Regions from separate parts of the Homo sapiens genome. Here all the other regions are linked to region 3. The links are contacts of gene promoters, found by promoter capture Hi-C in blood cells and fetal thymus (Javierre and others, 2016). All regions are on one chromosome and are shown on one strand. The core of a region is centred on a gene start or on the middle of the fragment in contact, and the rest is flanking DNA. Distances in the headings are between cores, read along the strand shown. Region 1 overlaps NLK (nemo like kinase). Region 2 has its middle 9.4 kb from the start of TMEM97. Region 3 holds the start of NOS2 (nitric oxide synthase 2). Region 4 overlaps LOC105371710 (a long non-coding RNA gene). Region 5 has its middle 44 kb from the start of TMEM97. Region 6 has its middle 27 kb from the start of TMEM97. Region 7 overlaps NLK (nemo like kinase).

Region 1 (3,196 bases), core at 644-3,143, 380 kb after region 3:
CTCCTACAGTTAGGTTTTCTTTAGGCTAGGCTTTGACTTTTTTTTGTTTTTAGAATCTCACTCTGTCACCCAGGCTAGAGTGCAGTGGCATAAGCACAGCTTACTACAGCCTGAACCTCCCAGGTTCAAGCAATCCTCTCACATCAGACTCCTGAGTAGCTGGGACTACTGGCATGTACCACCATGCCGGGCTAATTTTTAAGTTTTTTGTAGCAATGGCATCTCACAATGTTTCCCAGGCTGGTCTCAAACTCACAGGCTCAAGCAGTCCTTCTGCCTCGGCCTCCCAAAGTGCTGGGATTACAAACGTAAGCCACCGCACCCAGCCTTAGCCTGTGACTTTATTGTTATTTGAGTTGATTCTCATATGCTTTGACCTACCAAACTTTCTGACCACAGAAAGGTTATAAGTAGACGGCAGGTCTAAAACCCATTAGGAAAATCATTTACCCCACTAAGAGATTAGTTTTTTGTTTTTTTTTAAGTGGTATGAAAGTCAAGCCGATAATAATTTGGCCATAAGTCTAGAACTTTCAAAGCTTGAGGAAAAAATTCTCTGCTAAAGGTTGTATTAAGCATGGGAAGAAAAGGAGTCTCTAAACATTTTTTGTCACCTTCCTTAATTCTGCCTTTTTTATGTTAGAGATAAATAATTTACTTGTGTGAGAGACAGAGCAATGATGCCATTTACCTGCTCTGTCCCCTGACGCTTCTAGCAGTGAAATGGAAGCTTTATAAGCTCTATGGCTTCTCAGGTCATTAAAGCCACCTCCCTGCTTCACAGAAGTCAGATATGGCCATGTGGATATGCCTACCACTTATGAAGGCAATTCTTGAGTGAGAAATCAATGCTAAAGGCCATTCAGATTGAACCATCAAAACCAATGGTGTACTTTCTTACAGGTTCTGTAAGTTCTTGCATGTCCTTTGGCTCCTTTAGGACTAATATCTCAGCACCTTTATGGTAATGTCATAAGACATAGTTCACATTCTTATAGTTTACATGCTTTGCATGTGGCCCAGGTTTTAAAACCTTTCAATCTTTTCTCTCCCACCCCTAGGCATGTTTGATTATCATTCTTGCCAAAGCATTTAAGATGTAAGGCTAACTAAAACCCATTTTTGGCCATGCTCTGATCCCACATTGTTTCTATAAACTCAAGCTTCTGTACCTCATTGGGGGTTTGGGGCTTTATTTGGAAGCCTCCCGTGTACGCACGATAAATAAATGTGTATGCCTTTTCTCCTCTTTAAAAAAAAAGATGGCTAGCAGGAGTGCCATATTTGCAATTCGTTTTCATTTTTTTATAGACTCTTTTGTGCTTTCCCCTACAGTGGGTAATCATGCAATGTAAAAATCTACGGGGATGGACGTGGTGGCTCACGCCTGTAATCCCAGCACTTTGGGAGGCCGAGGCAGGCAGATCACTTGAGGTCAGGGGTTCGAGACCAGCCTGGCCAACATGGCAAAACCCCTTCTCTACTAAAAATACAAAATTACCCAAGCGTGATGGCACATGCCTGTAATCCCAGCTACTCGGGAGGATGACCACAGAAGAATCACTTGAACCTGGAAGGCGGAGGTTGCAGTGAACCAAGATGGCGCCACTGCACCCTAGCCTGGGTGAGAGAGCGAGAATCCATATCAAAAAATAAAAATAAAAATAAGTAAATAAATAAATAAATAAAAATGCTACGGGAAGTTAGTAACAATTGTTGCTTTTGAAGACTGGTTACTGAAGGGAAAACTCATTCTCCTTGAGTTTAGACACACATTGCCTTTTGAACTGAGTACTTACCTTATCATAAATTGGCTGTATTCCATAGCTGTTTACACAAAGACTCACTTAAATATTTGAATTTTTAATTTTTTCACAGCCATCTCTTCCTGTACTCTATACCCTGTCTAGCCAGGCTACACATGAAGCTGTTCATCTCCTTTGCAGGATGTTGGTCTTTGATCCAGTAAGTAGTGTTTTTTTTTATATATTTTTAATGAATTACAAATACATGTGTTCGAGAGAAACATTGTGGTTTTGAATAGATTGGCAATGTAAATAATTACTTTTCAGAATATAAACTTCAATCCCCAGTATCATGTGTATCATGCACGCTCATCACACAGAAGTTTGATTATTAACACATAAGAGTCTAAGGGAAGAGATAAGGAGCTGGATCTTATTTAACTCTTATTTCTTATTTATCTCATTATTTGTAAAAGGAGTTTGACACCAAGTTAAGTCAAGACAAAATGATTTTTTGTTTTGAGACAAGGTCTTGCTCTGTCACCCAGGCTGGAGTGCAGAGGTGTGATCTCAGCTCACTGTACCCTCAACCTCCCAGGCCCAAGCAATCCTCCTACCCGAGCCCCCTGAGTATCTGGGACTACAAGCATGCTCAGCTAATTTCTAAATATTTTGTAGAGAAGAGGTCTCACTATATTGCCCAGGCTGGTTTGAACTCCTGGAGTCAAGTGATCCTTTTGCCTCAGCCCCGCAAAGTGCTGGGATTACAGATGTGAGCCACCGCGCCCGGCCAGGACACAAAGTTTTTTAAGGTTATTTGAAAAAAAAATCTGACCATTATATTGCATAAGGAAATGTTTGCTCTGTGTTGTTGAGATGGAAGCTTTTCCCAATACCCTTTCTGGACTTGACTCTTCTGGAACATACTACAAATTATACTGTAAGTTCAGCTCTTCATTTATTCATTCATCCAAAGAATATTTATTATTCACATCTATGCCAATAACTATTGTCAAAGAAGACTTAAAAATGGAAGCATTTAGTAAAGAAAATTTAACTTGCCAAGAATACAAAGTCACCAAATACGAAAAATACCAGATATTTAAAAGATAAAACAACCACAAAATTACCAAAGTTATTAAGTTTACATTGGTCCATTTGTAGTGAGAAAGCTGCAACTTTCTCAGAAGATATCAAATTCACAAAGCTTCAGACATCAGCACAGCAAAGATTAGGGATAAAAATAATTCTGTTAAGGAGTTCAGGTTTGTGAGAAACAGTCAAGGTTTTTTTATTTGGGGGACCAGAACCAATTAGGGTGACCCAAATTATTTTTGTAATGTCTCAGGGTACAATTTAGATTGCTTATGTGTTTATTTTGGTGTTTTTTGCTGTTGTTTTCTTTTTTGTTTTTTTACTGTGGTGTATTAGTCTGTTTTTACACTGCTGAT
Region 2 (3,344 bases), core at 30-2,529, 510 kb after region 3:
GCATGAGGATTTGTGAGTCCCACAATGACCTAAGTCAAAAGACTAAAGACTTCAGTCTTTTGGTCTAGCCTAAATGAATTCAGTGTGTGGAATGATACGATAACCGGAATATTAACAAAAAGTTACTTTGCTTTCTCAAGGTAAAATTAAAATTCTAATTGAGGAATTGCACATGTACCCCAGAACTTAAAGTATAATAAAAAAAAAAAGGAAAAAAACTGGACTTCCCTGGGGAAAAATCCATTTGATGATGTGGCTTCATCGAGTATTCCTTTGTGAATTCCTGGATGAAATTTTCAAGGCAAACAGGAAAAGCACTGAAATTGCTGAATGGGTGAGCATTGTATGCCTGATTCATTAAATATATGCATTGGTAAATATATAAAAAAATTCTAATTGAATAAATAAAATTCAGTGATGGGGAACTCTAGCATGTAATTTGCCACATTGTATCATAAATGTTAAGTTTCTCTCACTAGACTCTGAAGTCCTCGAGGACAAGAACTAAGTCTTGTTTATCCTTTACAAACCTAATACTTAATATGGCAGCCAAACACTAGGGAACAATTAGGTGCTAACATTAAGTGGCAATGATGAACAAGTTCTAGAACAAGATGGTGGTGGTGATGGTCATACAATATTGTTAATGTACTTAATGCCACTAAACTATATACTTTTGCTTTAAGAGAAGGGGGTCTCGCTATGTTGCCCAGGCTGTCTTCAAACTCCTGGGCTCAAGGATCCCAGGCTCAGCCTCCTGACTAGCCGGAACTACGGGCTCCACTACACGTGGCTTGAATTATATACTTTAAAACAGTTAAAGTGATAAATTTTATTACGTGTATTTTACCACATAAAAATAATAAAAATAAAATTGTATGGCAAAGTCTATCCAAATGAAGAAAGGGGGAAAAAAGGAGAAAAATGGAATAGCAAGGGACAGGAGTATGTTTTCCAAAGACCAAAAAAAAATAAAAATTAAAAATAAAAAAATAAAAAAGGACTTATGAGTAGTTATTTCAGGAATAAGAAAAAGCACTCATCAACAAATGATTTTTAAAAAATTTAAAATAGCTATTAATCCTGAAAGTCTGTCTTAAATTAACCTCAATATTTTGTCCAATGATTTTTTTTAAATAACACCTGCTTCTTGGCATTTTAATTTCTACTACATTTAAAATTTTAAGTTAATTTAAAGGTGTTAATTGCAAAGTACTTCTAAATTACTAAATAATAAATATTCAAATACTGAGATTAGCTCAAACCTTATTATATTATAGAACACCAATGTACAGCCGAATATCAATTCTTTCACTCTACAGGTCTATACAATTTAATGATAAAAGAATAGACGAGGCACAGTGGCTCACGCCTGTAATTCTAGCACTTTGGGAGGCCGAAGTGGGAGCATTCATTGCTGGAGGCCAGGAAGTTGGACTTCAGCTTGGGCAACATAGCGAGACCTTGTCTCTACAAAAAAATTAGCTGGGTGTGGTGGCATGTGCCTGTATTCCTAGTCCTATAGTCCTAGCTACTCGGGAGGCTGAGGCTCCTGCCTCACTTCAGCCCAGGGGTTCAAGACTGCAGTGAGCTGATGAAGCCACTGCACTCAGGCCTAGGTGGCAAACCAAGAGTCTGTCAAAAAAAAAAATCCATCCTAAAAACAATAATTGTGTACTACTTTTTAAAAAGTAATTAAACCTTTAGTTTGTTTAGAGACAGAGTCTCTCTCTGCTACCCAGGCTGGAGTGCAGTGGGGCCATCATAGCTTACTGTAACCTTGAACTCCTGGGCTCAAGCAATCCTTCCACCTCAGCTAGGACAACAGGAATGTACCACCATGCCTGGATATGTTCTTGATTTTTTTTTTTTTTTTTTTTTGAGATGGAGTCTTGCTCCATCACCCAGGCTGGAGTGCAGTGGCGCGATCTCGGCTCACTGCATCCTCCACCAACTGGGTTCAAGCAACTCTCCTGCCTCAGCCTCCTGAGTAACTGGGATCACAGGCATGCGCCACCACAGCCAACTACTTTTTTTTCTTTTCTCTTTTTTTTTTTTTTTTTTTTTGGCCAGGCTTGTCTCAAACTCTTGATCTCAGGTGATCCGCCCACCTCAGCCTCACAGAGTGCTGGGATTACAGGCCTGAGCCACCGCACCCGACCTGTTTTTGATTTTTGTAGAGCGGTCTCACTCTGTTGCCCAGATGGTCTCAAACTCCTGGGCTCAAGTGATCCTCCTGCCTCTGCCTCTCAAAATTCTGGGATTACAGATATAAGCCATCAAGTCTGGCCTAGAATATTTAACTTAGGACAACTACGTGATGGTTTTTAAACAAAAAGAGAACTGCCCCCAAATGTATCACTATCAAAGATGATATAAAGCACAAACAGATTATTAGAGAACTACCAAGTAATTCTACAAAAAAGAAAATGGGCATCTTCTAGGAAAAACCATTTCAGCTCATCCCTACTGCATGAAAAATCACACAAGTTTTTCCAAACAGATAATGAGTCATTAGCAAAATCTTCTTTTAATCTTAGGCTTAAAGTTATTTTAGAAAACCCTTCTGTAGATTACAAACTACTGTCAGCAAATGCCAGGTTCCAAATAAGACACTTAACAAACTTCTAAATTTGTTAGCTAATTAACTTTTCAAATCATTCTGGATCTGTCAGATGCAATACAAATCAGGATTAATAATATAGTTTTAGAGTTTTAGTCCAAAAAAAGACCCACACATCTATGATTAATCTTCAACAAAAGTACAAAGAGAATTCAACAGAGAAATGATAGTGTTTTCAATAAACGACACTAGAACTCGGTGTCCATATGCAAAACAAAAAAAGAGCCTCAATCCATACTTTGAATCATAATAAAAAATTAACTTAAAATGCGCTACAGACCTAAATGTAAAACTGAAAATGAAATATTCTAAAAGAAAAATACAGAAGAAAATCTTTGCGACCACAGGCTAGACAAATATTTTCTTAGAGACAGCCCAAAAGCACAATATATGAAATAAAAAATTCATAAGCTGGACTAGGAGAAAATATTTACAAAGCTTATTCCTTTAAAAAAAAATGTGTTGATTCCTGGCTAACACAGTAAAACCCCGTCTCTACTAAAAATACAAAAAATTAGCCGGGCGTGGTTGCAGGTGCCTGTAGTCCCAGCTACTCGGGAGGCTGAGGCAGGAGAATGGCCTGAACCCGGGAGACGGAGCTTGCAGTGAGCCTAGATTGCACCACTGCACTCCAGCCTGGGCGACAGAGCTAGACTCCATCTCAAAAAAAAAAAAAAAAAGTGTTGATTTAGAGTAACTAAGGCTCACCCAGGCTACAAGG
Region 3 (3,660 bases), core at 1,093-3,592:
GAGAGGTTAACTTACCCTGCGTCACACAGCTGGCTAGAGGCAGCACCCGGCAACTAGTGCGGCCAGCACAGGGCTTGGAACTAGTTTGTCTAACATCCTGATGCCCTTCACCAGGATGATATTCAAAGCATCTAGCAAGCGGTGAATTGGAATGGACGCAGGCCAGGATGCTGACCCTCCACCCCCACCCCTCCGCCATGGTGCCCACCACGAGGCTCTACTGCCTCCCATTCTCAGGCCAAGCTCCTTCCCATATTCTTCCCCAAAGATTCCAAGCTTCTTCAGGGCCAGCCCCGCACCATGTCCCTTCCTTCTTCACATACCGTCAGGCACAGCGAGGTGCCCAATAATCAGCGGCTGCATTGAATTCCAACAGGGACTTTCAAGAAGCAATGAGGAGATCAGACCTCAGGTGAGAGAGGAGGAGCAGAGAGAGGAATTCTGAGTCATCGGTGCCGACAGGGCATGGGTGCCCAAGGAGACAAGCAGGAGGTTCCCCCAGGGAAAACTCACCTGGAGGTGGCACAGGGGGCTTTCTCCACATTGTTGTTGATGTCTTTTTCCCCATTCATTGCATACTGGTGGAATTTGGTCTTGAACAGAAATTTCCAAGGACAGGCCATCTCTATGGCTTTACAAAGCAGGTCACTTATGTCACTTATCTGGATTTGAGCTCAGATGTTCTTCACTGTGGGGCTGAAGAAGGGAAGCAGAGGTGAGGGAAGGTTGAAGAAGAGTTTACAGAACAGGGCTTCTCAGTGGGGTTGGCTCACTGGGGAATCGATATGAACGCCAGCATGAGCCCCTTCATCAATGCTTTGCAACCTCTGTCTCTATTTCGGGGTTGGAATGGGGAGCCTTCGGACACAGACTTCAATTCTGTAAAGCCACCTAATAATCTTAAGGAAAAACAATGAACCCCCCCATCCCCATCGCCACTTAACAAGGACAAACTGTATGCACCATGAGCCTCCTTAGCGGGACCTGCTGGCCCACCAGACCCAGCCAGGCTTCATCACTGGCCACAGGCAGGGTGAGGAAGAGCCCGGAGGTCGTTGAAACAGGGGTGCCTTTGCCTGACCCTGAAAGACACTTCCCAGCAGCTCTCATTATCAACTGTAGTTTTAGGTCTATTACTGGGGAAAGCACTCAAGCTGTAGCTACCTTTCTTTTAAAGATTTTGCAGTTGTTGTTCTAACTCAGCATTATTACTTGCTCCTCTTTTATTATGTGGGGAGGAAATATTTGTGAAAAATGCACTCATCCCTCGAAATCTGAGATCATCTCCTTTGAAACAGACAAGAGGAAGATCAAAGAGGCAAAAACTCTGTCTTTAGAAGACAGTGTAGTGAATATAGTCCATGTAAGAATTTTAGGCCAAGTGCAGTGGCTCACGCCTGTAATCCCAGCATTTCGGGAGACCGAGGCAGGAGGATCGCTTGAGTCCAAGAGTTCGAGTTCAGCCTGGGCAACATAGGGAGACCTTGACTACAAAAAATTGAAAAATTAGCCAGGCAGGCATGGTGTCTTGTGCCTGTAGTCCCAGCTACTCGGGAGGCTGAGGCAGAAGGATTGCTTGAGGCTGGGCAGTCAAGGCTGTTTCCAAAAAAAAAAAAGAAAGAAAGGGAAGGGAAGGGAGGGGAAGGGAGGAAAGGACAGGAAGGAAAGGAAGGAAAGAGGGAAAGAAAGAAAAGAACTTATAGCCCCATAGACCTGGGTTCAAATCCTGGAATCCTAGCTCTACCAGTTATGTGTCCTGGATCAAGTTATTTAACTGAAACTCATTTATTCATCCATAAAATGGGTTTAATATATCCATCTTACCAGGATTTGTGGGGAGGTTACATGTTATAAGGACTGATAAGATAATCTCTGTTAAAAAAAATTCTTAGCAGATACAAACTCCCATTTTGAACTTTTCAGAAAGTTTTTCCTTGTCATGTAACAACCACAGCTAATATTTGCAGAAAAGAAATCTGACCAAGATGCCATGTTCAAATGACCAAACCTCATGTCGGCATTTTTTTACCTAGACTTTCCAACACCTTCTCTCTGTAGGCAGAAAATTCCCACAATTTTCTGAGCCTTCTCAAAGAGGAAGAAACAAAACCCTCTCAAAACAGCCGCTTCCCCAGAAATGAAGGCAACTCACCTTGCAGCTGGCTGCACTGCCTCCCCGGGGTAAGGACAGTCAAACCAGGAAGAGACCTGTGCCTTGAGAACTTCGGGACTGTCTAGAACTGCCCAGTCCCCTCATCAAAGGTGGCCGAGAGATTTTAAAGCAGGAATGAGGCTGAGTTCTCTGCGGCCGGAGCCTCAGTTTTCGACTCGCTACAAAGTTATGAACACACTGGCAGCCAAGAAGTATTTATACTCACCCCATGCCATCCAGAGAGTTGTTTTTGCATAAAGGTCTCTTTTTTTTTTTTTTTTTTTTGGTTTCCAAAGGGAGTGTCCCCAGCTTGTGTACAGTTAGCTAATTTATGACTGTGACTGCCAGGGCCTGTGGGTGACCTGATCTTGCTGTTACATCACTCTGTGTGGTGCCTCTTCACCCAACCCACCTCTTTCTGGTCCCAAGTCCAAGGTGGCAGTTCATCAGCAGGGTGGCTGCTAAGATAGAGGCACCACGGAGCCAGGTTTTATTTGGCCAAGCCACATGGCCTCACTTTCAGCATCTGGGAGATTTTTTCCTCAGCAGGGAGCTCTCTGGTTAATCCCTGTCCATCCTCTCACTTTTCCAGCTTGTGACAGGAGTCCAGGAAGCTGGGGGAATATTGACAGTATGGAACACACTGGAAAATGCCCAGGTTCCAGAAGGCCAGTGATATTAGATGATGCCATTATTCCAGACAGGCCTCTGAACTAGTCACTTGAGGTTTTTGGAAGGGAAAGGAAGGAAGGCTATTGGCACAGAGAGGCCTCTGAGATGTTGGTCTTACTAACACCTCATCCTTTAGCACTAGGTAAGCTTTGGTGGAATGGCAGGTAGGATTAAATTCCTTCCCTTATAATGGAAATGATCACTTCTTACATGAAAAAGTGGTAATTTCTTATAATTTCATTTCATTTATTTTATTTATTTATTTATTTTTGAGATGGAGTCTCATTCTGTCACCAAGACTGGAGCGGAGTGGCACGATCTCTGCTCATTGCAACTTCTGCCTCCCAGGCTCAAGCGATCCTCCCACCTCAGCCTCCTGAGTAGCTGGGACTACAGGCATGCACCACCACACCCAGCTAATATTTTTGTGTTTTTGGTAGAGACTGGGTTTCACCATGTTGTCCATGCTGGTCTCGAACTCTGAAGCTCAAGTGATCTGCCCACTTCAGCCTCTCAAAGTGCTAGGATTACAAGGGTTAGCCACCATGCCCGGCCTATAATTTCATTCCTTATAATGCCTGAAATACAGTATTCCCATACATATGCATTTTTCCATCATAAAAGTAAAATAACAACTACATTAGGGAGAAGTTGAGAAGCAAAGGGAAAAAAAGTCACCCTTGATCTCACCGTCCCAACACTTTGCTACCACTGTCCACTCATTTCCTTCTTGTCTTTCCCAAGTTAAATTCAGCATAATATATTAACTTTGTCAAAGATAAACTAAGAGCCACAAAAAAGACATGGATATCAGAGCTCAAGGATCTTTGTTGAGT
Region 4 (3,655 bases), core at 130-2,629, 420 kb after region 3:
GCCGGGATTGCAGACGGAGTCTCGTTCACTCAGTGCTCAATGGTGCCCAGGCTGGAGTGCAGTGGCGTGATCTCGGCTCACTACAACCTACACCTCCCAGCCGCCTGCCTTGGCCTCCCAAAGTGCCGAGATTGCAGCCTCTGCCCGGCCGCCACCCCGTCTGGGAAGTGAGGAGTGTCTCTGCCTGGCCGCCCATCGTCTGGGATGTGAGGAGCCCCTCTGCCTGGCTGCCCAGTCTGGAAAGTGAGGAGCATCTCCGCCCGGCCGCCATCCCATCTAGGAAGTGAGGAGCGCCTCTTCCCAGCCGCCGTCACATCTAGGAAGTGAGGAGCGTCTCTGCCCCGCCGCCCATTGTCTGAGATGTGGGGAGCGCCTCTGCCCCGCCGCCCCATCTGGGATGTGAGGAGCGCCTCTGCCCGGCCGAGACCCCGTCTGGGAGGTGACGAGCGTCTCTGCCCGGCCGCCCCGTCTGAGAAGTGAGGAGACCCTCTGCCTGGCAACCACCCCGTCTGAGAAGTGAGGAGCCCCTCCGCCCGGCAGCTGCCCCGTCTGAGAAGTGAGGAGCCTCTCCGCCCGGCAGCCACCCCATCTGGGAAGTGAGGAGCGTCTCCGCCCAGCAGCCACCCCGTCCGGGAGGGAGGTGGGGGGGGGTCAGCCCCCCGCCCGGCCAGCCGCCCCGTCTGGGAGGTGAGGGGCGCCTCTGCCCGGCCGCCCCTACTGGGAAGTGAGGAGCCCCTCTGCCCGGCCAGCCGCCCCGTCCGGGAGGGAGGTGGGGGGGTCAGCCCCCCGCCCGGCCAGCCGCCCTGTCCGGGAGGGAGGTGGGGGGGTCAGCCCTCCGCCCGGCCAGCCGCCCCGTCTGGGAGGTGAGGGGCGCCTCTGCCCGGCTGCCCCTACTGGGAAGTGAGGAGCCCCTCTGCCCGGCCAGCCGCCCCATCCGGGAGGGAGGTGGGGGGGTCCGCCCCCCGCCCGGCCAGCCGCCCCTTCCGGGAGGGAGGTGGGGGGGTCGGCCCCCCGCCTGGCCAGCCGCCCCGCCCGGGAGGGAGGTGGGGGTGTCGGCCCCCCGCCCGGCCAGCCGCTCCGTCCAGGAGGGAGGTGGGGGGGTCAGCCCCCCGCCCGGCCAGCCGCCCCGTCCGGGAGGGAGTTGGGGGCGGTCAGCCCCCCTGCCCGGCCAGCCGCCCCGTCCGGGAGGTGAGGGGCGCCTCTGCCCGGCCGCCCCTACTGGGAAGTGAGGAGCCCCTCTGCCCGGCCAGCCGCCCCATCCGGGAGGGAGGTGGGGGCGTCAGCCCCCCGCCCGGCCAGCCGCCCCGTCCGGGAGGGAGGTGGGGGGGTCAGCCCCCCTGCCCGGCCAGCCGCCCCATCCGGGAGGTGAGGGGCGCCTCTGCCCGGCCGCCCCTACTGGGAAGTGAGGAGCCCCTCTGCCCGGCCACCACCCCGTCTGGGAGGTGTGCCCAACAGCTCATTGAGAACGGGCCAGGATGACAATGGCGGCTTTGTGGAATGGAAAGGCGGGAAAGGTGGGGAAAAGATTGAGAAATCGGATGGTTGCCCTGTCTGTGTAGAAAGAAGTAGACATGGGAGACTTTTCATTTTGTTCTGCACTAAGAAAAATTCCTCTGCCTTGGGATCCTGTTGATCTGTGACCTTACCCCCAACCCTGTGCTCTCTGAAACATGTGCTGTGTCCACTCAGGGTTAAAAGGATTAAGGGTGGTGCAAGATGTGCTTTGTTAAACAGATGCTTGAAGGCAGCATGCTCGTTAAGAGTCATCACCACTCCCTAATCTCAAGTAATCAGGGACACAAACACTGCGGAAGGCCGCAGGGTCCTCTGCCTAGGAAAACCAGAGACCTTTGTTCACTTGTTTATCTGCTGACCTTCCCTCCACTATTGTCCCATGACCCTGCCAAATCCCCCTCTGTGAGAAACACCCAAGAATTATCAATAAAAAAATAAATTTAAAAAAAAAAAAAAAAAAGAGTGACTGAGAGAGCCCTGAACTCTCCCTCTCAGGAGAGCTCTAAAAATAGCACCCACAGCCATCTGTCCTGGGGCTGGAGGGGCTGGCTCAGAACCAGCGGCCTGGACAAGTTGGCCCCTTCAGCCCCCATGGGTTGATGGGACATCTGGAAGTACTGGAGGTCTGGCCAGGCCAGGGAGAGGAAGCTGGAAGGGCTTTATGGAGAGACCTTCCCACAGCCCTCTCTCCTACTGGGCAGGTGGGTTTGAGGGGGTTGGCATTCTGGAGGCCCTTCCCCTACTCAGCCTCTCATAGTGGGTGGTGGGCCCCAGACTTAGGCTTCCGGTCCCTGCTCCCAGGCCTGCCTCCGGCACCACATGGCTACTCCAGGTGCTGAGGCTTTCTGCCCCTCACAATTGAGAGGTCCTCTTCCTGGGGTCTGCCTCACCCTCCTTTTCCTGTTTGAATCATGGGTGACTTTGGCTGCTTCATCAGGGCTTCAATTTCCTCATCTGGAAAATGGAGATAAACTCAGCTCATTGTTTTGTGATGTCCGAAATTATGTACTACCCGGTGCACAGTAGGTGCTTAATAAACATGAGTCCTTTCCTTCAAAGGATCTGGGCTTCAGAGCCCAGTGGAGACTGCCATGGGCTGGGGACAGTGGCATGTGCTTGGGAAGGCTTGGCATCACTCAGGCCCAGAAGACACCAGTGCCCTGATTGACACCTGCATAGGGGTGGGGACATTGCCTGGGGAGAGGGCTCTATGCCACACATGGCTGGACCAGGGTCTTTGTGTGCCAGGCTGGATACACAGGTAGCTGACTCAGCTGCTTCTGGTTGGGGGACTGGCTTCTGCCTCCTCCTGCCTCTTTTCCCAACTCTTTAATGGAGAGAGAACATAACGGAGTGTTCAGAGAGGCCTCTCCCCCAGGATATCATAAACTGCAGGCCAGGAGCCCAAGGTCAGGTGCTCCCACCCCTGCCTCCAGGAGAAAGACTTTCCCCCAGAGGTCCTGTCACTCCTCAGCCCTTCTCCAAGGTATTACTGAGCAGAGGCTGAAAAGAGTTGTGTTTTGGAAAGAGTGGTCACAGATCCCACAGGCTGGAAGAAATGTGTCTACCCTCCCACCCCCCACTCCCACCATGGACTGGCTAGGGAAGACAGAATCTCATTCCTGGTCCTAGGGGCTGCCCCAGGAGTCTAATCCAACCACTTCACTTCCTCAGGAGGCTGGACCTGCCCCTGCGGGGCTGTGGGCTGAACACAGGGTTCAGGCTAGGTACCCCATCCAGTGGGACCCCAAATCTGAGCATGGCAGCTGCCCCCTGAGCTCCTATGAGGTGGAGACGTCACACAGTGGCTGAGCGTAAGCTCAAGGATCTGGTGCGGGTGGAAGGAGGAAGAAGGGCGCACCCCCTGCTGGCTCCCCCTCCCCGTGGGACTCCCTTTCCTTTCCAGGCGGGGATATAAGCCCCGAAAGGAAAGCCCTGAGCAGAGGAGGCCTCAGCTTGACCTGTCCCAGTGCGCCCTTGAAACTTTCCTCGCCTTCCACCTCCTGCTCATCTGCTTCACAAGCTGTCGCTGTGAGTGGCTGGAGCTCAAGCATGGTCTGGTACTAGGAAATCCAGGCTGTTTTGTGGGGAAACTGAGGCTGGGATGGTGGAAGCTGGGGGTGAGTGGTGGGAAACTGGA
Region 5 (3,445 bases), core at 491-2,990, 470 kb after region 3:
TGGCTCATGCCTGTAATCCCAGTACTTTGGGAGGGCGAGGCGAGCAGATCACCTGAGGTCAGAAGCTTGAGACCAGCCTTGCCAACATGGGGAAATGCTGTCTCTACTAAAAATACAAAAATTATCCGGGCCTGGTGGCAGGCACCTGTAATCCCAGCTACTAGGGAGGCTGAGGCAGGAGAATCACTTGAACCAAGGAGGCAGAGGTTGCAGTGAGCTGAGATCGCACCATTGCACTCCAGCCTGGGTGACAGAGCGAGACTCTGTCTCAAAAAACAAAAACAAACAAACAAAAAACCACTGTGACTTGATTTTTTACTCTGGAGAAGCAAAAACTACATAGGCACATTTTGAAACACTTGGGGAAATGTATTGCAAAGCAAGGATGAAGCACTGAGGATTAAACATCTGCAAAGTGGGAAATGATGTGAATTCTAACAACAGGCTTAGAAAGTTAACATCTCTGGAAAATAAACCTCTAAAAAAAAACACACAAAAAGCCAAAGCACACTACACTTGGTGGAATATATTATGCATGACACAGAAAAGGCCAATATGTTCTACAGCCACGTTCAGGAAATGGTCTGGTTAAGACTAAAAGACGGGGACAATGGGTTCTGAGAAATCAAATGTGGAAACCAACACACTTTCGGACACACTCAGGCAAGCAGTCCATCTAACCCTAAATATCTATTAACAAATTCCTTCAAATCGCTGCTCAGACTAGGGACAAAAACATTTTAATGCACCTGACACCGGAACCACACACAAACTCGGCACAATGGCAACTGCGCAGGCAGCTTTGAAATGCTGCCTTCTCTACAAATGGCCTAAATTCTAACCATCTGTCTCTATCTGATCAGAAAAACGTTTCCACCATGTGAATTTCCACCTTTCTGTCTCAGACCAGTCCAACCAGGTTATTTTCACTTCTGCCTATTCCCCTTCAATTTAACTGCTTCTTCTTCAGGTTTTTGTGTTAGAAAAAGAGATTCTTCTGTCTAGGTCTAGTCTCTGTGGCAATGCACAAAGTCCCTGTCATTTAGGGTTGGTTTCCTCCTCATCAATCTTTTTCAGATACCCCCTAAAAAAGATGACGCTCAGAGATCTGAACTCCAGCCCCCACAATCTGTCAAGTGCAGGCCGACCCCCACCGCAAGCCTGGCTTATGTTAGCAGTGAAGGTTCGAGACAGAAGCTCTTCTCGCTGTCTCTCCTGCTGCTCCCTTGCATAGCACTGGTGCTGGAAGTTTCTGAGAGCAGTCTGCAGTTGATAGACATCATACTTTAACTGCTCAACCTGACTGGAATTGATGGAAAGAGAGATTAAATTTAACTCAGGGCAGCAGAGTCTGAGGGGGCCAGATTTTGTACTGACAAAAGACAGCATTTCCTTACTTCTCCCTACACCACCCCCCCACTATCCCCCACCCACCATGAAATCTGATTTTGATCAGTGATGTTGAAAGTAAAGAAGTAGCCTGTGGTTAAGGTGAGATGGTAGCGCATGAGATTCTGGCAGCTTGACTTCAGAATCTGCTGCTCTCTGATTCTGAATGCATGACAGGGAACAGGGGACAGGAAGCAGGTTCACTGACCTCTTCATTCTCCTGGAGGAAGCCCAAGGGCATCTTTGAGGTAAAGCATCCACGAAGCTTCATAAAACTTTCGGAAACAGGCGCTGGGGGTGGAGGTGGCAAGGGCGGTTTCATTTTAATTTCATGGTGGAGTATCAAACATTAGATCAGTATTTCATTATAGATGGACTGATTGAAGTGATTTTTCTTTTCAATCCAAGAAGAACCCAGCAGCAACCAAAGAGCAGAACAAAGCTTCATGGCAGCATTAGGCTGCAGGTGGCCATGGGTCTTGTCAGAGAAACAGAACTGGAGGCAAAATTTCAAAACGACACAAAGAGGTATGGGGTCACAAGTCTTCTAAGCCACAAACCTCACAGGCTATTTATTTTGAGACGGCATCATCCAGATAGAATTGCACCCGTTGGGGGGAATTTTTCTTTGCATATAGTCTTAGTTTTTCAACAGAAAATTCAGAATATTCTATCACCTCCCCGCTGGGAGAAAAGGCTCTCTTAATGGGCCTGGGGTATCAGAGCCATGTCAGAGGTCAGCACTCAGTTTGGCATTCTGCCTTTTGTTAGGGGGCTTCTTGCTGGACAAAATCTCCAGACTTCCAGACAGCTGAATATCTTGCCGGTCTATGCTTGCTTGGATTTTGTTTTCTACTACTGCACAAAAGAGAAAAAAGAATAATTGCTGGAAAAGAGACAGTGAACTTAAATTACAATGATAAATCAAAGATTGTTTTCAATATCCAATAAACTAGAAAATACACATTTCAAAAGAAGAAAAATGTATATACTAATAAATAGAAAATTCAAGTTATGCTATAAATGTTGTTTTGAAAAAAGTACATATATATAGCTGTTAATGCCATAACAATGCCAATATTTTTTCTTTTTTTTTCTTTTTTTTTAACCTCTGAACTTTTTATTGGCCTCCTGCTCCCCAAAGGGTCCCCTGCTTCTGCTGGCTTAAGGTATCAGAACTTTGGCATCACTGGTCTCAGACACCACTTTGCCATCCAATATCCGGCAGGTGGTAGTCTTTTGGATGGTTTGCATGGAGTTGCTGCTGTCCAGGGCATCACCAAGATTGAAAGATTGAAGTCCTCACTGTCTTCCAGCAGGCGGTGGTAGGTGGCGATCTCAGCCTCCAGCTTGACCTTGATGTTCAGCAGGGCCTCATACTCCTGGGCCTAGTGCTGTCCCTCTGCCCGGGTCTGTGCCAGCTCTGACTCCAAGTGCAGCAGGATCCTGTTGAGCTGCTCCGTCCGCAGGGTGTAACAGGCCTCCACCTCCCTCAGGCTGTTCTCCAAGCTGGCCTTCAGATTGCTCATGGAGTCCAGGTCGATCTCCAAGGACTGGACTGTATGTCTCAGCTCCGTGAGCGTCATCTCAGCAGCTCCAACCTCGGCAGACTGCGTGGTGACAACTGCGGTGCTCTCCTCAATCTGCGGAGACCAGTACTTGCCCAGCTCCTCTAAGTTCTTCGGAGCCAGCTCGTCATATTGGGCCCAATGTCTGCCAAGATTTTGGCAAGGTCATGAGATTTGGGGGCATCTACCTCCACAGTCAACCCAGAGCTGGCAATCTGGGCTTATAGGCCCTTTACTTCCTCTTCATGGTTCTTCTTCATGAAGAGCAGCTTCTCCTTGAGAGCCTTGATCTCTGCTTCCAGCTGCAGCCAAGTGACATTGGTGTCATCAATGACCTTGTGGAGCCCATGGATGTCACTCTCCACAGACTGGCACATGGCCAGCTCTGTCTCATACTTGACCCTAAAGTCATCACCAGCAAGACAGGCATTGTCGATCTGCAGAACAATGTGGGCACTGTCCACAGTATTTGCAAAGATCTGAGCCCT
Region 6 (3,405 bases), core at 378-2,877, 490 kb after region 3:
ATGGCTTCTAAGTTTTGGGTTAAGCTTAGAAAAGTTTTTCTTATTCAAATATTATTTTTAAGATAATTCCACCATTGTTCATCCTAATAATTTTATGATTTCATTTTTTACATTTAAAGCTTTTATTCATCTGGAATCTATCTGGGGTAAGGAATGACAATGGGGATCCAGTTATTTAAATTCTGGGTTGTTATTCAGTTGTCCCAACACCACTACTGAGTAACTGAAGCTCTTTTTAGATGATTTTTTAGAAGTTAGACTCAGAAGTAGAGATGACTAGTGAGCTCAGAATTAGTGAAACCAACACCAAAATTAGGAATTTAGGGGTCCTAAAACACATATAACATTAAAAGCACAGATCCTGAAGTCCAACATCTATCACATACAAAGCATATTAACTAGTACTGTTGTTAGACTTGGAAGACCTAAGGATGGATTATCTCTAATTCAGTTAAAATAACTATGTACTATACAATAGGTATTAATAATAAGCATTTATATGGCACTTTTACAGTTTGTATAATGTGAGTTCACTTACTTTGTCTTCATAACTACTCTTTAAGAAGATGGGTAGAGATTTTAATTTCCATTTATTGCTGAGGAAAATAATTCAGTGGTGGTACCTTGTCCCTTTACTTATAGGAATTGGTAGTGCCAAACTCAAACCCAGATCTCATATTTCCAAATATTAGCACTCTGCTTTTATATCCTGCACCAAGTACTTTTATGCAAAAATTAATGAGACTTCCTACTCACAAGGAGGTTGAAACGATTTTTCAATTAAATATTCAGACCAATCACATACTTAATTCTAAGCATGAAAGGAGTACACAGAAGTAGAAAACATCCTTGGCTTTAAGGAAACTTCAAAGGTCTACAGCAGTTTAAACAAATAAGGCTTGGGAGACTGGAAAATAAACCTGAAGGTCAGGAACCATCTTATCTACTCTCTCCTTGTCATACAGTATTTACAGCTGGTATAACTAGAATGTAGTGTTAGGTCAGTAAATATTTGTTGGTTGTCTAAATGTACTGATCGAAACTTCTAGACAGGGTGAGATATGAAATAATATCAGATCCCACTTATTTTTCCCAGGGGCTAAACTTTTGTCTGTGACCAAAGACTCAGCCAAATCATCAAACAGTTCTTAGACAATGTAAGTCTACACCTACTGGGCTACACCTACTGACTAAATGTATTTCACAGAAAAATAAAAATGTTGAACTACATTTCATTTCAAAACTGCCAAAAGGTTATAAAACAATTTCCAGAACTGAATCTAGTCCAACTGCTACAAAATACAACTATCATTCACTCTTGCTTTACTCTGAATTAAACACATCTTCTGCTTCTACAATAAATAATTGTTCATAATATTTCTCATCAGTTGTGCTTTCTTTGTGTTGTTTCCTTCAGATATCTTGTCAACATATATTTTCTGCAGGTCTTTTATTTTTTAATACTAACAATCACTTATCTGCCACATATGATAATTTTTTTAAAACTTCTGAAATATTTTAGCAAATACTAAGGGAGAACAAAACATGAATATGAAAATAGAAGTACAAAAATAAACTCAGTTTACAAAGTTCAATTTGTATCCTGCCACAGATAACTTCACTTCAGAGTCTGCACGCCCTATTCTCCCATCTATCCAGTGACAAGATATTGGCATTGGAGCCTCAAGGACTGCAACTTTTGTTGGCAAAAGCCTTGCATGGGTCAAGATAATTTTTAAGCCTTTGATAAAGAAAGCCCAAAGAGACCAGGCTTAAAATTTTAGTGGATGGTTGCGTGTTAGATATGTTAGAGTCCTAAACTCAAATAAAAAGGCAAGTTGACAATAAACTAGTCAATGCAAAGAGCTTACAAAAGCATAAGCCCAGAAATTACATGCAATGCCTAGTCTATAAAATACCAAGAAGGCGGCTGGGTGCGGTGGCTCAAGCCTGCAATCCCAGCACTTTGGGAGGCCAAGATGGGCGGATCACGAGGTCAGGAGTTCGGGACCAGCCTGGCCAACATAGTGAAACTCCATCTCTACTAAAAATACAAAAATTAGCCGGATGTGTTAGCACGCCACCTATAGTCCTGGCTACTTGGGAGGCAGAGGTGGGAGAATCGCTTGAACCTGGGAGGCGGAGGCTGCAGTGAGCCGAGATCGCGTCATTGCACTCCAGTCTGGGTGACAGAGTGAGACTCCATCTCAAACAAAACAAACAAAAACAAAAACAAAAAAAACAAGAAGGCATGACTGTTTACACCAGAGTGACAGGGCTTTCTTGAGTGGTTATTTATAGCAAAGGTTTAGTACAGTTAAAGAAATCTGTCATAACTTGTTTCAATATGCCATAAATGTGGATATATTCTAGGTAAAATTATGTGGGTGCTACAGAAGGAGATACGTGAGAGAAACCAGCACAATGCCTGCACACTGTTGAATCTGACACTAGGAAATAAACAGCCAGTTATGAAACAAACTCAATTCTTAATGTTGGAAACAGAATAAGGCTCCATTCTTTTTGGAGAATAAAGACACTAACCATTTAAAACAGATGGACTTCACACCAACATGTGAATATACTTAACATACAGAACTGTACACTTAAAAATGGTTAAGATGGTAAATTTTATGCTATATGTTTTGGAAAGGGGGAATTCTTTTTTTTTTTTAAGCAGAGACAGGGTCTCGCTCTGTCACCCAGGCTGGAGTGCAATGGCCCAATCATAGCTCACTGCATCCCTCAACTCCTGGGCTCAAGTGATCCTCCCACCTCAACCTCCCTAGTAGCTGGGACTTCATGTGTGTGCCACCAAGCCCAGCCAATTTAATTTTTTTTGTAGAGATGGGGTCTTGCTATATTGCCCAGGCTGGTCTCAACTCCTGGCCTCAAGTAATCCTTCTGTCTCAGCTTCCCAAAGTGCTGGGATTACAGGTGCTAGCCACTGCACCTGGCTATGTTACGTATTTTTTAACAATTAAAAAGAAAAAAAAACTTCAAATGAGCTTTAAATTTCCCTTGTATTTTTAAATGAATAGATTTATGTGTTATTGAGTACTTACTATATATACCTGTTACCATGGAGATGGAGGTAAAATATAGAGAAAACCTATTCCTCTTTTCAAGAAGGTCAAAGCTTAAAGAGAACCAAAATTCTAAACTGTTCTTCTTTTTTATTTCCTTTTTTTTGAGACAGGGTCTCACTCTGTCACGCAGGCTGGAGCCCAGTGGTGCAATAATGGCTCACGGCAGCTTCGACCTTCCGGGCTCAAGCAATCCTCCCACCTCAAGCCTCCTGAGTAACTCGGACCACGGGCATGCACCACCATGCCCAACTAATTTTGGGGGGGGGCATAAGAGAAGACAGAGATGGGGTCTCACTATGTTGCCTAGGCTGGTCTC
Region 7 (3,470 bases), core at 780-3,279, 360 kb after region 3:
AAGGCCAAATGATTTATGGCCTGTGAGACCATTTTAAGGACTGGCTTTTACTCTTAAATGAAATGGAAAGCTTTTGCAGAAAAGTGACATAATTTGGCCTTCATCCTAAAAGATCATTCTGTGAAATGCATCCAGTTTTGGATGAATTGATGGATGGAAAGAGCAATGGATAGATGTGTGACAAAGCAAATATAGCAAAATATTCAGTGTAGATTCTAGGTGGTAAGTGTGTATATGGGTCATCTCTGCGTAATTTTCTGTGTTTGAAAAATAAGAAAAAGTTGAATAAAAACTATTAAAAACTATAACCCTGATGTCATTATTTAACTCTTCATCATTTTATAGAATAATTTTAACATGTCACTGAAAACTGTCCTGTAAGTGAATCCCACATGCCAAATATCATTTTCTCATTAACTTTCATTATGAAGTAGAATATATTTCTTTGGAAAGAATCTGAGTGATAAAACCTAAGATTAAAATATCTAAGAATGTAAAAGGCTTAAAAATTATATTTTCTATATAATAAAGTAAATGTCAGTATATAGGCAAAATAAAAAATATAACAGTAAAAAAAATTATCCTGGCTGCTGTTTTAGAAATCTAGCAGTCTTGGGCCAGAGTAGTAACAGTGGATATAAGAAGTGGCCTTAATTCTGACTAAATTTTGAAGGATTTCTGATGAATTGGAGGTATGGTGAAAGAGAAACGGGGAGTAAAGGATAACTCCTTGATGTGGTTTGTGGTGCAAGCAACTAAGAAAGATTTGGACAGTTTTGGACTTGTTAGTTTGAAATGTCAATTAGGTATCCAGGGGAAATAGGTAGGCAGTTTGATATACCAGTCTGCACTTAAGGAAAGATTAACTAGAGAGAGAAATTTGGCAGTCTGCAGCATGGATGTTATTTAAAGGCATGGCACTGGATCCGAGTATCCACGAGTGTGGATAGGGAAGAGGAGTGAGGACCAGCAGCCATGGGGCATTTCAACGTACAATGATTGAAGGAGACTAAAGCGATTTGGAAAAAATGTCTCGAGGAGGAGGGAGTTTGAAAACAATTGAAAAACAATTTTTAGTTGTTTTGTCAAAGGCTGTTATTATCAGTTCTCCTCCCTGTTCCCAAGTTATCCCCTTTCCTACTTGTTTTTGCTAAAACATTAAATTAGAAATTGCCTTAAGAAAACTTAATACTTAAATTATAAGATTTACCATACTTTTGCTTCCCTAATGTATCTAACACGTGCTTCACAAGAGTCTTGAATTGCATATCTCCATGGCTCCCCAGGCTCCAGCCTTTAATCATCGGCCATGTGTCCATTCAGCAAAACCCTAAACATACAACAGAGTACAACGTATAGGAAGCTCGCTCGAAATCTAGTGGTGATGGTGGGGAGGGGTGTTTCATAAATATATACAAAGTTAAATAATAAAGGAACTAAATTACTAAGATTGTGGAGAGACTTAACTAATTATTTTACATGTGTTTAGGAATACCATATTTTATAATGTAACAAGCCACAGCCCTTGGATAGGTTGTGATCTTTTCCATTGGTGTCATGGTGGCCTAAGATGAGATCACCAATCCCCATTTGTTTGGATTCAAAGGACATTCCTGTAATATGTCTAAGTAGAGCTTAAGACTGTTTGGTCGTCATACTTTTCCTGGCCTGGCTGTTATTTAAAATGTTTACCTTTGGTTTTCTCTTTGATAATGCTGATTATAAGGAAATCATTTGGTCGTTTACTTCTGCTGACTTTTAAACATGTAAGTTCTTTTGATTTTAGTAGTGTTTTGTGAGGGCTGGAATTCTCACCTCTGTCACGCTGTCTAGAAGCTTTCTTTCCCCACTTTTCCAGCCTTGAGAATGGAAGTTATTTTTTAGATCTGGTCACCACTTTGAGGGGGTAGGGGACTGAATTCGCCGAACTCTCCTTAACTTAAAACTTCAAGATATGTTGTCACAGAATTGATGCAGAGTGACCTACATAAAATTATCGTCTCTCCTCAACCACTCAGCTCAGATCATGTCAAAGTTTTTCTTTATCAGATTTTGCGAGGTAAGATTTCTTTATGAAGAAAAAGGTGCTGTCACACTGTAAATGAAATGTTTTGCTTCTCATTTAGACTTTAATCCGATCTTCCAAGGTTTTCTTCTTCTCTAAAGACTTTTTTCTTTTGACCAAAGCATATTTTATAATTTCTATATTTAATGTTAAAGAGGAAGCTTTTTAGGGTTGCCAAATAGTTCTTGTTTTCAGTGATGAAAGAGAAAGCCCTGTCAAATTCATTAGGCAGTTGAGTGGGCTAATCTAGGTGAATAAGCAGGATGGTTTGTCACAAGTTCACAAAACAGCCTTTAGTTTTCAACGGAATAGGAATATGTGGCATCAGACGACTAAAGTGAAAAGTGACTATATCCCCTATGGATGACGTCCATCCTGCAAGCCAACAGTAGGTGGGCCTGTCTGAGTATTGGCTGGCATACCTGAAGCCAACTCCAGAGAAACAAAATGACCCTTAAAACCAAAGTAGATTGGGAAGACCAATAAACAGAGCCAGCTAAATTCTAGACAGCTCATTAAAGAGCACAGACTTGACTGAGAAAGGATTTGGGCCAACATTATTGACACTTCTTCTGGCCATCAAGTATGTCCATGAGAATTTTGCCATTACAAGTAGAGAATTGCTTAAACCTGAAACAGCTTTCTTACCTAGTAAGCAAAATACTTTCCCCCTGCCCCAGAATTCATAGAATTAAGAGATTCTTTATAGAGATTGAAAAATAAATGCCAAAAGGATGAAAACACATAAGCAATTTTTTTTTCAGACAGAGTCTTGCTCTGTCGCCTAGGCTAGAGTGCAGTGGTGCGATCTCAGCTCACTGCAAGATTCGCCTCCCAGGTTCACGCCATTCTCCTGCCTCAGCCTCCCAAGTAGCTGGGACTACAGGTGCCCGCCACCACGCCCAGCTAATTTTTTGTATTTTTAGTAGAGGCAGGGTTTCACCGTATTAGCCAGGATGATCTTGATCTCCCGACCTTGTGATCCTCCTGCCTCGGCCTCCCAAAGTGCTGGGATTACAGGCGTGAGCCACTGCGCCCAGCCACATAAGCAATATTAAAACTAAAAAACTCACCTCCAGGCCAGGCATGGTGATTCATGCCTGTAATCCCAGCGCTTTGGGATGCTGAGGCGGGCAGATCATCTGAGGTCAGGAATTCAAGACCAGCCTGGCCAACATGGCAAAACTCCATCTCTACTTTAAAAAAATACAAAACTTAGCTGGGCATGGTGGCACTCGCCTGTAGTCTCAGCTACTTGGGAGGCTGAGGCAGGAGAATCGAGTGAACCCAGGAGGTGGAGGCTGCAGGGAGCCAAGATCGCGTCACTGCACTCCATCCTGGGCAACAGAGTGAGACTCCGTCTCAAAAAAAACAAAAACGTTCACCTCTAAGATTTGTTCATATT

Evidence for each region. The method cuts DNA at HindIII sites, captures the fragments that hold promoters and counts their contacts. A CHiCAGO score of 5 or more calls a contact.
Region 1: a fragment that was not itself captured here is called in contact with the fragment with the promoter of NOS2 in region 3 in 2 of 17 cell types (endothelial precursors and megakaryocytes); the score reaches 5.9 in endothelial precursors.
Region 2: a fragment that was not itself captured here is called in contact with the fragment with the promoter of NOS2 in region 3 in 6 of 17 cell types (erythroblasts, M0 macrophages, endothelial precursors and 3 more); the score reaches 8.8 in erythroblasts.
Region 4: a contact is called between a fragment that was not itself captured here and the fragment with the promoter of NOS2 in region 3, in 2 of 17 cell types (M0 macrophages and endothelial precursors). The highest score is 5.6, in M0 macrophages.
Region 5: a contact is called between a fragment that was not itself captured here and the fragment with the promoter of NOS2 in region 3, in 9 of 17 cell types (erythroblasts, M0 macrophages, megakaryocytes and 6 more). The highest score is 13.2, in erythroblasts.
Region 6: a contact is called between a fragment that was not itself captured here and the fragment with the promoter of NOS2 in region 3, in 6 of 17 cell types (erythroblasts, endothelial precursors, M2 macrophages and 3 more). The highest score is 9.2, in erythroblasts.
Region 7: a contact is called between a fragment that was not itself captured here and the fragment with the promoter of NOS2 in region 3, in 1 of 17 cell types (total CD8 T cells). The highest score is 6.5, in total CD8 T cells.

Annotation. Positions count from the first base shown.
Region 1 is chr17:28,183,301-28,186,496 of GRCh38, forward strand. NLK (nemo like kinase) reads left to right here. Exons shown (of 11, transcript NM_016231.5): 8 at 1,879-1,965. Among named protein-coding and RNA genes, the nearest start is that of TMEM97, 130 kb to the right of the region's middle. The HindIII fragment of the contact is 1,465 bases long and covers 1,162-2,626 here.
Region 2 is chr17:28,308,090-28,311,433 of GRCh38, forward strand. No RefSeq gene overlaps it. Among named protein-coding and RNA genes, the nearest start is that of TMEM97, 9.4 kb to the right of the region's middle. The HindIII fragment of the contact is 3,560 bases long and covers 1-3,059 here.
Region 3 is chr17:27,798,187-27,801,846 of GRCh38, forward strand. NOS2 (nitric oxide synthase 2) reads right to left here and starts at 2,343. Exons shown (of 27, transcript NM_000625.4): 1 at 2,153-2,343; 2 at 514-696. The coding sequence starts at 623. RefSeq lists promoters at 2,176-3,660, 2,256-3,373, 2,256-2,548, 2,307-3,660, an enhancer at 2,517-2,545 and a cis regulatory region at 2,858-2,880. The HindIII fragment of the contact is 2,695 bases long and covers 275-2,969 here.
Region 4 is chr17:28,223,333-28,226,987 of GRCh38, forward strand. All of the region lies in intron 1 of LOC105371710 (a long non-coding RNA gene), which reads right to left. It also overlaps the pseudogene PYY2. Among named protein-coding and RNA genes, the nearest start is that of TMEM97, 94 kb to the right of the region's middle. RefSeq lists an enhancer at 2,840-3,490. The HindIII fragment of the contact is 7,934 bases long and covers 1-3,655 here.
Region 5 is chr17:28,273,491-28,276,935 of GRCh38, forward strand. It overlaps the pseudogene KRT18P55. Among named protein-coding and RNA genes, the nearest start is that of TMEM97, 44 kb to the right of the region's middle. The HindIII fragment of the contact is 177 bases long and covers 1,653-1,829 here.
Region 6 is chr17:28,290,992-28,294,396 of GRCh38, forward strand. It overlaps the pseudogene KRT18P55. Among named protein-coding and RNA genes, the nearest start is that of TMEM97, 27 kb to the right of the region's middle. The HindIII fragment of the contact is 3,020 bases long and covers 118-3,137 here.
Region 7 is chr17:28,159,208-28,162,677 of GRCh38, forward strand. NLK (nemo like kinase) reads left to right here. Exons shown (of 11, transcript NM_016231.5): 4 at 1,953-2,059. Among named protein-coding and RNA genes, the nearest start is that of NLK, 120 kb to the left of the region's middle. The HindIII fragment of the contact is 390 bases long and covers 1,835-2,224 here.